2 separate regions of the Homo sapiens genome follow, and region 1 is linked to region 2. Evidence: promoter capture Hi-C in human tissues and cell types (Jung and others, 2019). All regions are on one chromosome and are shown on one strand. The core of a region is centred on a gene start or on the middle of the fragment in contact, and the rest is flanking DNA. Distances in the headings are between cores, read along the strand shown.

The links. The method cuts DNA at HindIII sites, captures the fragments that hold promoters and counts their contacts. A contact is called where the count stands out against the background at its distance.
Region 1: a fragment that was not itself captured here is called in contact with the fragment with the promoter of INSC in region 2 in 1 of the 25 tissues and cell types used here (aorta).

The regions. Positions count from the first base shown.
Region 1 is chr11:14,322,498-14,326,111 of GRCh38, reverse strand. The region is part of intron 1 of RRAS2 (RAS related 2); the gene reads left to right. Among named protein-coding and RNA genes, the nearest start is that of RRAS2, 35 kb to the left of the region's middle. RefSeq lists an enhancer at 2,723-2,802. The HindIII fragment of the contact is 4,046 bases long and covers 1-3,614 here.
Region 2 is chr11:15,113,603-15,117,264 of GRCh38, reverse strand. INSC (INSC spindle orientation adaptor protein) reads right to left here and starts at 2,342. Exons shown (of 13, transcript NM_001042536.3): 1 at 2,262-2,342. RefSeq lists an enhancer at 2,635-3,168. The HindIII fragment of the contact is 4,237 bases long and covers 982-3,662 here.

The DNA of each region.
Region 1 (3,614 bases), core at 400-2,899, 790 kb after region 2:
ACCATTCAAGAATAAAAAACCAAGTTCTCTCAAAGGGGTTCTAGTACACGTCCATGTTTTGCTGAATGCTATTCTGTAATATTCTTAAAAAACATCTTAAATTCAAGGAAGGAGATGAGAGAAGCATAGTGAGATTCCAGACTTGATCCTCCTTCAAAATGCTATCAGTTGCTGCTCATTCCCCAGCCTCTACTGCATTCCACAATTGGACAGTATTTTATGTAATACTTAGAGTTTTTACAAATCAAGTAGAAGATACAATGGAAGAAGACACCCCTTTTAGAATAGCAAACAAAAAGACTACTTCTACACACTTAAAAAATGTGTGTTAAATTTTTTTTTACAGTCTTCCATACAAAATTTTAAAGCAAACATTAAATTTTTTTAAGACAAAGACTTAAACAGAAAAGCATACTATATTTCCAGATCTGAAAATTCAGATTCTTAACAGTGTCAATTCTAATTGTTAATCTACAAACTTAATGCCATTCTAAAATAAAAATATTGAAAGGAAGCCGGGCACGGTGGCTCACGCCTGTAATCCCAGCACTTTGGGAGGCCAAGGCGGGAGGATCACGAGGTCAGGAGATCGAGACCATTCTGGCTAACAAGGTGAAACCCCCTCTCTGCTAAAAATACAAAAAGCCAGGCGTCGTGGCAGGCGCCTGTAGTCCCAGGAGGCTGAGGCAGGAGAATGGCATGAACCCGGGAGGCAGAGCTTGCAGTGAGCCAAGATCGCGCCACTGCACTCCAGCGTGGGCGACAGAGCGAGACTCTGTCTCAAAAAAAAAAAAAAAAAAATACTAAAAGGATTAAAAGAAACTCCCAACAGTACTCTTGCTGAGGTAAGTGCTAGTGCAAGCTCATTTTGTGGTAAGACAAGGTGAATTCAAGTAACTTCTCCAATGACAAAGCTGGGAAGTGGTGAAGCAAGGCTTCACATCAGGGTAAGTTTGAGGGCTCAGATACGATGATAGCTAACATGCAGTAAGTGTTTATATTATTGTGCATTACCATTCCAGGTGAGGTACTATATATTTTCTCAATTAGAATAGCATCTTAATGTAAAACTTGTGAGGCTTTGCTAGGAAGAATCTAGAGATAATACAGGCTGTGCTTAGAGATTTATGAACCCTTTATAATCTCTCCCCTCAATCTCGCTTTTTTCCACATGCATAAACTAGTTATCCCAGCATCACTTTTTGAGTACTGTTCTATGCTTCCCCTATGATCTGCTCTTCTATTTATATATCGAATTTCATTCATGTGGATTTATTTTTAGGCCTTCTGTTTTGTTCCATTTGTCTTTTTTGCCTATTCTTGTGTCATTTCCATTCTAAATTTCGTAGAGGGTAGGATAAGTTTCCCTGCTGTGTTCATTCAAAAATTCATTCAGCACATATATTGGAGACAACTGCTATGTGCCAGGAACTTTTTAGGTGCTGGGAAAATGGCATTGAGCAAAACAAAAAAATTCTCATGACTCTTACACTTATAAACAATTTCTTGGCTATTTTCTTGCTTATAAATTTTAGGTTCAGCTTGTCAAATTCTATGAAAAACCCAGTAATGTTAAAACAAATTTAAATTGGGTCAGTTAAGGGAGCACTGATACCTTGACAATTCTATCCATGAAGAGAATGCTTTTACACTCATATACGTTTTCCTTTTTTTTTTTTTTTTTGGCCTCTGTTTAAAGCTTAATTATTTCTTTCCCTAAAGGTCTAGAATATATTTTTACTAGAGTTAGTCCTGCATATCATATATTTGCTGTTGCTGTTGTAAATGGTGTCTTTTATTTGACTTAAGCTTTCTAATAGCTTTATACAGAAGTGGTATTTTTTTTTGCTGTTTATTTTTTCGACAGGTTGAGGGGACTATGTAGACTTTTATATCCAAATACCTTGCTGAATTCTAATTCCAATAATTATTATGTATATTGTTTCCTGTGCAGATAATCATATCAAATATATTCTTAAAAATTTGTATACCACTTTATTTTCTTATTAAATTAACTAGGACCTCCAATGTAATGTTGAATAAATATGGTAATAGTAGACATACATACTTGTTCTTGATTTTAATGAGTTTCACTGTAAAAAGTGTTGTTTGCTATAGTTTTTTTTTTTTTAAGACAAATGTGACATTTTCTTATCCTTTTTCCATATCTCTTATAGTGTTTTTCTTTAGTCTGTTCATATGGTGAATTATATTTATAATTTTAAAAAAGTCTATATATTCTGTTCCTGAATTTCTGGGACATATTGGTCATAATGTATATTTTTATATACTGTTGGATTCTGGATTCTGTTTGTTAATATTTTGCATATGGACTCTTTTCATGTATGTTTATTAGTGAAATTGGCCTGTAATTTTCATTTTTTAATAATGTTCTTGTCTGGTTTTGGTATCCAGATTATACTGGCCTCATAAAATGACTTGGGGGGTGTATTTCCTCCTTTTCTATTCTCTGGAAGAATTTGTGTGATACTGGATTTACTTGTTTCCTGAAAGTTTGGTAGACCTTGCTTTTACAACTTTTAGACCTAGTTTGTGTGTGTGCCGGTGGGGGGAAGAGGGGGAAGTTTATTTTATTTTTTCTTCCTTTATTAGTCATAGTGCTGTTCAGGCTTTCTGATTATCCTTTTTTTTTTGAGACAGGGTCTCGCTCTGTCACCCAGGTCGGAGTGCAGTGGTGTGATCTCACTTTGCTGCACCATCCACCTCCCAGGCTCAAGCAATCCTCCTACCTTAGCCTTCCAAGCTGTTGGGACTATAGGCGCATGCCGCTATGCTTGGCCTAGTTTTTTTGTTGTTGTTTTGTTTTTGTAGAGATGAAGTCTCACTATGTTGCCCAGGTTGATCTCAAACTCCTGGGCTTAAGTGATCCTCTCATCTCAGCCTCCCAAAGTGTTGGCATTACAGGTGTGAGCCACTGTACCCAGCCTTCTAATTATTCTTGAATCAATTTTGAGTTTGTATTTTTCTAGGCGTATGTCCATTTTGTCTGTGCTTCATATTTATTGCATAAAGTTGTTCATAGTATTCTCTTTTAAATGTCTCCTCTAGCTGTAGTTATGTTCACTATAGTCTGTCCTTTAGTTCTCCTTAGCAGTGTTTGAAGAGATACGCTTTTTAGTCCATCTATTGAATTTTTACCATTAGGTTATATTTTTTATTTCCATAAGTTCTGTGTGTTTCCTCTTAAGATCTTAGTGGTCATTCTTTAACTTTTTATTTTTTAAATTCACATTTGTCTTGATTGGATTGATGGTCATTTTTTATAGCCTCTTGCTCACTTGTTTGTGATTTCATTTATTTTTAACATTTAATCCGGAATCTTGATGGGTATGGCTGATAAAATTTTAACAATGGTTGTTATGTACTTCCCTAATAAGTTCAAGATAAATTAGACTGTGACTACTTTAACACATAGATATAGATCTGGATTGCTGTATTTAGCCAATAACATACGTATTACAGAGGAATTACTTGTTGGATGATTAAGGTTTTCTTAGGTAAATAATTTGGAAAAAATGTTATTTGTGGGAAATATAGGAAGAAAGAAATTAAACATCAAGGAAGAGAAGCAGGAAATGTTGCTAGCTGTGTCT
Region 2 (3,662 bases), core at 1,093-3,592:
AACACTAAGAAAGAAGAAACTCAGGCCAGGCATGGTGGCTCACACCTGTTATCCCAGCAGTATCGGAGGCCTAGGCAGGCAGATCACCTGAGGTCAGGAGTTCAAGACCAGCCTGACCAACATGGAAAAACCCCATCTCTACTAAAAATACAAAAATTAGCTGGGCATGGTGGTGGGGGTCTATAATCCCAGCTACTCAGGGGCTGAGGCAGGAGAATCGCTTGAATCCGGGGGGCAGAGGTTGCAATGAGCTGAGATCATGCCACTGCACTCCAGCCTGGGCGATAGAGCAAGACTCCATCAAAGAAGGAAGGAAAGAAGGAAGGAAGGAAGGAAGGAAGGAGGGAGGGAGGGAGGGAGGGAGGGAGGGAGGGAGGGAGGGAGGGGGAGAGAGAGAGAGAGAGAGAGAGAGAGAGAAAGAAAGAAAGAAAGAAAGAAAGAAAGAAAGAAAGAAAGAAAAGAAAGAAAAGAAAAGAAAGGAAGGAAGAAAAAAAGAAAGAATGGAAGGAAGGAAGGAAGGAAAAGAGAGAAAGAGAAGGAAGGAAGAAAGGAAGGGAAGGAAGGAAGCTCAATACCATCTTTCTAACTTCCCAGCTGAAAGAGCACATTTAGTCTGGGTACCTCACTGAAGTATTCAGAAGAGAATAGCCAGGATGGGACAGGTCTAGAAGCTCTACTAAGAAGAATAACACCACCACTCAGCTGGTATTTTAGGGCACCTACTCTTCCAAGCGCTGTATAGTGTGTGCCCAGTGGTCACCAGGGGGAGGAGGTCATGGAGAAGATTCTGTCCAGAAAAAAAGATAACCACTGGAAGAAAGGAAAGGAGCAGAGCAAATGCCATCCCTCCACCAGCCTGTGGGAGGGAGACTCAAAGTAGGGTTGAACGAAACCAAAGAAGAGAAAGAATCAACCCAGCTCAATTCACTGTCCTCCCTGCCAAATGGTTGCCTTGGGACCCAACCCAGAAAGGTCACTGCTTCTCTGCAGCAAGTGTAATCCAGAGTATAAACTACAGCATGGAGCAAATTATATATGCTGAGCTCCATGTCAGATCCCAGCCTGACCTGGCTTGCCTTCCAAAGGCAGTGTTTGGAAGTTTTCACTTCTAAAAGGGCGAACAGTGCTTCTAAGTCCCAGAGCTAAAGGGACAAGATGCTCTCTGGCTGAGCTCCATGGACAGCCTCAGTTTCAGATTCAATGGAACCCCTCAAAGGCACCACATCACCATCTGCCCTGACCCCCACAGCCAAAGTCCCTGACTTAAAATATTCCCCACTGAGGCCAGTTTCTTGGACCCATTGTCAGAGGTATAATATATAGATTAAAAGGGGCAAAAGTGGGAGGAGGCTAGCGGCTGAGGGTGGGGCCACACCAGGGATACATTTGCGCATATGCATTGAACAAAGTGGGTGCATGTTGCATACATGTCGTTGTCCACAGGTATACATGTTGAAAGTGTGAATGGTTGCATGGCTATCCTGAGAAGAGTGTGTGCAAGACTGGTGCACATGGACAGGAATGTGTGTATGCTGAGCATGTAAGCGTGGGTGCACTGCGAGTGTTTGTGGGTGGCCATGGCCATATGGTCCACTCATCCCCTGGCCTCCTGTCTCTTCTCCTGGTTTAAGAGTGGGGTCTCCCAAGCTGTCTCCCTGACCCTGGTCTAGCCAGATGGGGTTAGTCAGAGCCACATTCACTCCAGTGTTGTGTGAGGGCTCTGAGCTTCTGTCCTTCTCCAAGCCCTGAGAAACCAAAGCTGAATGACCCACAGAGAAGACACCCCAGCTGGGACAAGTCAGGTCACCTTAGAAAGCCTGAGTTCAGATAACACTCCCTAGCCCCAATTTCTGCCTTCCTGGGTTCACACTGGCACATCCACTCATCCACATGTGGACTGGCTCAGCCCACCTGGGGGCCTTCCTGCCACACACACAGGCATTTCCACAGGTACAGACACAGTGCACCCAGGGCAGCAGGTGCCACACAGGCAAATACCTGTGGCCCACTCCAGGCCACCACACACTCTGACACACTCGTTCACCCACACTCGCACCCTGGGGCACATGCTAGAAAATTCCACATGTGGACATCCCATCCAGACACACTCCCTCACACTGGCGCAAGCTCCCCTTCACAAGCACTCCCACTGACACACTTACACCTACTATCCAATTAGTGACAAACCTGCACTGTTCCCAACTAGGCTAGCAGAGGCATCACCAGCCCCCTGAATCCAGCTAGGGGAGCTGTCTACTTACTTAGCGTGCGAGACAGGCTGGTAGTGCGAGCGGCCAGTGGTGGCGGGGCGCAGCTGGAGCTCCAGAGGCCGCGCGCAAAGTGGCCGCTCTGCCGGCCCAGCCCGAGAGGCCGCCCCTGGCCCCCGCCCCACCCCCCGCCCCGTTCTCCCCCGCCCGCCCTCTCCGAGGCGGTCGCAGCCTCCCAAGGACCTTCCACAGCAGCGCGCTCCCTGCCAAGCCTTGGTCCCGCGTCAGCCACGGCTGCCTGCTGTCTCCGCGGGACTACGAGGCTATTTCGGTGCCCCTGGGGGGGGAAACATGGCCCTCCCTCCCATCTGCAGGAGCGCTGGAATGGGGACGCGGTCAGGCCTAATTAGAGACCGGGCTCCCCCGGGCCAGGCGGCAGGCACCAGGGTGATCGCCCGGGAGCCGCGAAGCCGTCCAGGCGGGGTCGCCCACAAGGTGCCCCGCATGCCAACATCTGGAGAGGGGAAGGGAATGTGCCGCGATCGTTTCCCTTGGAGCTGAAACAAAACAAGGAGGGATTTGGGTGCAGTTCACTTGCTAGGAAGGAGGAAGCCACCCAGCTTTGATAGACCCCAAACGCCTAGAATGAGACGGTTTATTCACCGCAGGTGCTTCCCTCTGGAACCTTGCTCACACACACCTAAGTCACCCTCCACATCTTGGACCTGCCAAAAATGACGAGGGGTTGTTGCAGAAACTCCTTCTAACTTCGGCACATAAGATCAGACCCCACCCCCCACCCCCCACCCCCGTCCTGGACTCTGTCAAATAGCTAAATCTAGAGGAACTTGATTCCTACCCAAAAGCTCGGGAATGTGGCATTTTTGACCTGGAAGAAAGCTTCCAGATCATTTCATACAACTCCCCCTCCCCCGCCTCCGCCATCTTGCTATGAGGCTCCCAGAGCCCAGAGAATCTTGACCTATTCTTGGAGGTCCTCAAGCAAAGGCAGCCCCTGGTCTCCCTTGAGCCCTGTTCCAAAGCTTGAACTCTCTTACTGACAGAAAGATCTCCTTGACATCTAACCTAAATCTCTCACATGCAAACTATGTCAATTTGCTCACAATATGTATTCAGGGAGAAGGAGCTCAACTCAGTCCCCATGACAAAACGACCACGCCGAGGTCCCACTGCAGCCTTCTCTTCCTTAATGCTAATAATCTCTATTTCTTTTTTCAGGCTCTGGCTGAAGCTAACTGCTGCTCCCTGGACTCGAACACACACAGTAGCTCTCTGATATTAACTCTCCTCCTCAGCTCTCTGGGGGCCCAGGGCTCAGAAGGTGGCCAAATCATTCCTCTCAGACAAGCCAGCTTCAACTCTACCCTCCAGTCATCCAGAACAGCCTGATTCTACTCCCCAAGTTCCCTGAGAGGGGCCTCAGTTCCTGTTTCA